Regions from separate parts of the Homo sapiens genome. Here region 2 is linked to region 1. Evidence: promoter capture Hi-C in 16 types of primary human blood cells and fetal thymus (Javierre and others, 2016). All regions are on one chromosome and are shown on one strand. The core of a region is centred on a gene start or on the middle of the fragment in contact, and the rest is flanking DNA. Distances in the headings are between cores, read along the strand shown.

Region 1 (2,807 bases), core at 308-2,807:
AAGTTCTGGGATTACAGGCGCGGGCCACCACACCCAGCTAATTTTTGTATTTTTAGTAAAGACGGGGTTTCGCCATATTGCCCAGGCTGGTCTCGAACTCCTGACTTCAAGAGATCTGCCCATCTTGGCCTCTCAAAGTGCTGGGATTACAGGCGTGAGCCACTGCGTCCGACATTGTCAAACGTTTTTTGTTCATTATCACCCTTCTTAGGAGAAAACCCGAATTATCCTAAAATTGAATTTACATCAACTAAATTAATTTCAATTTAATTACATTTAATATCTCCCTAAAGGCAGAAACTAAATACTTAGGGATAAATGCTGTCTGATAGAGCTGGCTTTGGAAGACCACAATATCTAAGATTTTTTTCCTCCCTGAGGACCAGTTTTTTCCCCTGGGGAGTCATCATGAATCACTTCGACTGAGGACGGTTGTGCTTAGAGCAAGGAGCTGAGCAATAAACAAGTAAATGCACAAAATTATACCGGAAAGCCAAGAATGCTACAAAGAAAAGAAGAGGGAGTGGCTGAGGGGAGGCCACTTGGCATCTGAATCATTGGGATCGGGAAAGAAGACAAGGAACAGTTTAAGCAAAAGGATTGTTTTCCCCGAACTTTGGTTTCTTTTTTCTTTCTTTTTCTTTTTTTCTTTTTTAGAGACAGGGGTCTCACTATGTTGCCCAGGCTTGTCTCAAACTCCTGGCCTCAAGCCATCCCCACGCCTTGGTCTCCCAAAGTGCGGGATTACAGGCAGGCGCCACTGCACCCAGTCTGAGCCTCAGTTTCTTCAGCTGTAAAATGGAAGTAATATCCTCCTCACCATGCTTCATATACAATAAGCACTCAATAAGTGAGCTTTATGATTATTATTATTTATTTTAATTTTACTTATTTTTCTGAGACGGAGTCTCACTCTGCAGCCCCAGGCTGGAGTGCAGTGGTGCGATCTCGGCTCACTGCAGCCTCCGCCTCCTGGGTTCAAGCGATTCTCCCGCCTCAGCCTCCCGAGTAGCTGGGATTACAGGTGCCCACCACCACGCCTGGCTAATTTTTTTTTTTTTTTTTTTTTTGAGACGGTGTCTCGCTCTGTCGCCAGGCTGGAGTGCAGTGGCGCGATCTCGGCTCACTGCAACCTCCGCCTCCCGGGTTCAAGCGATTCTCCTGCCTCAGCCTCCCGAGTAGCTGGAACTGCAGGCACGCACTACCACGCCCAGTTAATTTTTGTGTTTTTAGTAGTGACGGGGTTTCGCCACGTTGGCCAAGCTGGTCTCGAACTCCTTACCTCAGGTGATCCGCCCGCCTCGACCTCCCAAAGTGCGAGGATTACAGGCTTGAGCCACCTCGCCTGGCCTATTTTAATTTTAAAGGTTAATAGGACCAGCCCTGAAATCAGCCTCTGCCCCCGCTGGCCCTACTCTGGTACCAGCAGCGCCCAGTAGCATACACAGCCGCGTGCGCCTCCACCTCCGTCCGCAGGTGTCGCTGTGGGTGCCGCGGCTGGGCCCCTCTAGGCGGCGACGGCGGCACCGGAAGTCTCGTTTTCGCCCGCTTCCGCTCTCTGGCCGGGCTTGGGCTGCGTGGAGAATACTTTTTGCGATGCCTACTGGAGACTTTGAGTGAGTCGGCGATCGCGGAAAGGGGCACGGGAAGCGGTTGGGGTGCTCTGGGAAGTATTATGGGGCCTGGGTACGCCGAGGCTGCGGGAGCCGGGCCTGGCTGACTTAATCTTCGTTCCCCACACATTTGTTTCCGCAGTTCGAAGCCCAGTTGGGCCGACCAGGTGGAGGAGGAGGGGGAGGACGGTAAGTGTACACGGTCGCCCGGGGTATTCGCGGCCAGGCCCAAGCCGTGTGACTGCCGCCTGCTTCCATCTCCCAGTCTGGCACCGTGTACCCCGTCACGGTCTGCCCCTGCCCCGCGCCATCCTCCTTGGGACCCGCCTGTTGCCAACTCCAGGTGTTCCCCGGCGGGTCCCTCTTCCTCCCATGCCACTGCCTCCCAGCTGTTCCCCTCCAGGGAGGAAGTTGTAATCTCCCGTCTCCTGTTTCTCTACTGGCGCCTGGTTGGCTTCATGGCCTGGCACCCACCTTCCTACGAGGGATCTCCCATCCTTGCCACTCCGAGTCCCCACAGGGCCATCCCAGTGCGTTGCCTGGCCAGCCCTCTGCCCTTGGCCTGCCTTTCTCCGCTTTTGCTGTAGGCGTCATCCCAAAAGCCCTTCCATCGCAGCTGGGGAGCTCCTGCCCCTGGAGCTGACTCCTCCTTCCTACGCTGCCTTTTGCAGACAAATGTGTCACCAGCGAGCTCCTCAAGGGGATCCCTCTGGCCACAGGTGACACCAGCCCAGAGCCAGAGCTACTGCCGGGAGGTGAGTGAGGACTGCCGGGAGGTGAGTGAGGACTGCCACTCGGTGTCCGGGCTGCCTCTCCCTCCAGCCCTGCCGCTCCTGATCCCCATGACCCAGGGCTCAGTCTTTCTCTGTTTTTCCCCTTCTGCCAGCTCCACTGCCGCCTCCCAAGGAGGTCATCAACGGAAACATAAAGACAGTGACAGAGTACAAGATAGATGAGGATGGCAAGAAGTTCAAGGTGAGGGTGGGGGGTGCAGGGAGTGGGGACCCTTGTGCTTGGGGGCCCATAGACCGGAATGGGGTGGGGTGTGTTGAGGAGGTTGATAAAGGAGATCCCTTGGTCCCAGGAGCCTGACCCTTCTCCCCTCCCATCCTCAGATTGTCCGCACCTTCAGGATTGAGACCCGGAAGGCTTCAAAGGCTGTCGCAAGGAGGAAGGTGAGGCTCTTCTTCCCCA
Region 2 (2,807 bases), core at 209-2,708, 500 kb after region 1:
AAACACCCTAAATACGTGTGTGGTTTTATTTTTTACACTTAGATCCCTAGTCCACTTGGAGTTTATTCTTGTATATGCTGTGAAGTATGGATTTAATTTCATCTTTTCTCAGATGGCTAACCAGCTATCTTAGACCTTCCATTTGTTACAAATGGCATTTTTTGCCCCATTTATCTGAAATGCCACTTTTTTTTTTTAGACGGTGTTTCTCTCTTGTTGCCCTGGCTGGAATGCAATGGCACGATCTCCACTCACCCCAACCTCCGCCTCCTGGGTTCAAGCGGTTCTCCTGCCTCAGCTTCCTGAGTACCTGGGATTATAAGCATGTGCCACCATGCCCAGCTAATTTTGTATTTTTAGCAGAGACGGGGTTTCTTCATGTTGGTCAGGATGGTCTCTAACTCGTGACCTCAGGTGATCCACCCGCCTCTGCCTCCAAAAGTGCTGGAATTATAGGCATCAGCCAATGCACCCGGCTTTTTTTTTTTTTTTTTTTTTTTTTTTTGAGACAGAGTCTCGCTGTGTCGCCAGGCTGGAGTGAAATGGCGTGATCTCGGCTCACTGCAACCTCTGCCTCCCAGGTTTGAGCAATTCTCTTGCCTCAGCCACCCGAGTAGCTGGGCTTACAGGCGCCCACCACAACGCTTGGCTAATTTTTTTTTTTTTTTTTTTAGACGGAGTCTCGCTCTATCGCCAGGCTGGAGTGCAGGGGAGCGATCTTGGCTCACTGCAACCTCCGCCTCCTGGGTTCAAGCGATTCTCCTACTTCGGCCTCCTGAGTAGCTGGGATTACAGGCACCCGCCACCATGCCAGCTAATTTTTCTATTTTTAGTAGAGACGGGGTTTCACCAAGTTGGCCAGGATGGTCTCGATCTCGTGACGTCGTGATCTGCCTGCCTCAGCCTCCCAAAGTGCTGGGATTACAGGCATGAGCCAGCATGCTCGGCCATGCTTGGCTAAATTTTTTTTCTTTTTTGAGACAGAGTCTCACTCTGTTGCCCAGGCTGGAGTGCAGTGGTGCGATCTCAGCTTACTGCAACCTCCGCCTTCTGGGTTCAAGCAATTCTCCTGCCTCAGCCTCCTGAGTAGCTGAGATTACAGGCATGCATCACCACACCCAGCTAATTTTTGTATTTTTAGTAGAGATGGGATTTCACCATGTTGGTCAGACTAGTCTCGAACTCCTGACCTCATGATCCGGCTGCCTCGGCTTCCCAAAGTTCTGGGATTACAGGCATGAGCCACCGAACCCGGCTATGTTTTTGTATTTTTAATAGAGATGGGGTTTCACCATGTTGGGCAGGCTGGTTTTGAACTCCTGACCTCAAGTGATCCTCCTGCCTCAGTCTCCCAAATTGCTAGGATACAGGCATGAGCCACCGCATCTGGCAAAATACATTTATGAACCAAATTTCTACATGTTCATGGGTCTATTTTTTGATATTTTATTAGTTTCTGTTTCACGTGCTAGTACCACATAGTTTTAATTATAGAGGCTTTATAGTATGTTTTTTAAATTAATTAATTAATTAATTTTTTAGACAGAGTCTCACTCTGTCAGCCAGGCTGCAATTCAGTGGCACAATCTCGGCTCACTGCAACCTTCATCTCCCAGGCTCAAGCAACTCTCCTGCCTCAGCCTCCCAAGTAGCTGGGATTACAAGCATGTGCCACCACGCTTGCTAATTTTTGTACTTCTAGTAGAGACAGGGTTTCACCATGTTAGCCAGGCTGGTATCAAACCCCCGACTTCAGGTAATTTGCCTGCCTCGGCCTCCCAAATTGCTGGGATTACAGGCGTGAGCCACTGTGCCCGGACTTTATTTTTATTTTAAAATAATGTAATTCTTTGCCTTGCATGAAAACTGTCAATAGTATGTTTTAATATCTGCTGCTCATCATTGCTTTTGTTTTTGTTTTCTTGGTTATTATCAGATGTTTGTTCCTCCACATAAACTTCAGTATCAATGTACTTAACTCCAGAAAAAAACTTTTGGTATTTTTATTGGGAGTATGTTACATTTCTGAATAATCTTGGGGAGAATGTCTGGTATCAGTGCTATTTTACAACGTAGGAAATGTGTTCCTGGCCCATGTGGTAAGATCAGAAAAATAACAACAGAAATACATATTTTTGGCTGGGGCAGTGGCTCATGCCTGTAATCCCAGCTCTTTGGGAGGACCAGGTGGATGGATCACGAGGTCAGGACTTTGAGACCAGCTGGGTCAATATGATGAAACCATGTCTGTATTAAAAATGCAAAAATTAGTTGGGCGCAGTGGCACATGCCTGTAGTCCCAACTACTCAGGAGGCTGAGGCAGAAGAATGGCTTGAACCCAGGAGGCAGAGTTTGCAGTGAGTGAAGATCGCACCACTGCACTCCAGTCTGGGTGGCAGAGCGAAACTATGTCTCAAAAAAACAAAACAAAACAAAACATTTTTTAATTTAAATTTTTTTTATATATATATAGAGAGATGGGGTTTTGCTGTGTAGCCCAGGCTTGTCTTAAACTCCTGGCCTTAAACGATCCTACCATCTTGGCCTGGCAGATATTTTAGGCCAGGAGTTCGAGATCAGCCTGGCCAACCTGGTGAAATCGTTCTCTACTAAAAATACAAAAATTAGCTGGGCGTGGTGGCAGGCGCCTGTAATCCCAGCTACTCCAGAGGCTGAGGCAGGAGAATTGCTTGAACCTGGGAGGTGGAGGTTGCGGTGAGCTGAGATCACACCACTGCACTCCAGCCTGGTCTGATCCAGTGAGATCTGTCGCAAGCAAGCAAGCAAGCAAGAAAGAAAAAGAAAA

Evidence for each region. The method cuts DNA at HindIII sites, captures the fragments that hold promoters and counts their contacts. A CHiCAGO score of 5 or more calls a contact.
Region 2: a fragment that was not itself captured here is called in contact with the fragment with the promoter of EIF3G in region 1 in 1 of 17 cell types (total B cells); the score reaches 5.3 in total B cells.

What each region holds. Positions count from the first base shown.
Region 1 is chr19:10,118,649-10,121,455 of GRCh38, reverse strand. It overlaps EIF3G (eukaryotic translation initiation factor 3 subunit G), which reads left to right and starts at 1,557. Exons shown (of 11, transcript NM_003755.5): 1 at 1,557-1,616; 2 at 1,756-1,802; 3 at 2,285-2,368; 4 at 2,500-2,588; 5 at 2,729-2,788. The coding sequence starts at 1,597. RefSeq lists enhancers at 1,299-2,054, 2,055-2,807. The HindIII fragment of the contact is 4,736 bases long and covers 1-2,807 here.
Region 2 is chr19:9,623,147-9,625,953 of GRCh38, reverse strand. All of the region lies in intron 1 of ZNF561-AS1 (ZNF561 antisense RNA 1), which reads right to left. Among named protein-coding and RNA genes, the nearest start is that of ZNF561-AS1, 3.1 kb to the right of the region's middle. The HindIII fragment of the contact is 3,033 bases long and covers 1-2,807 here.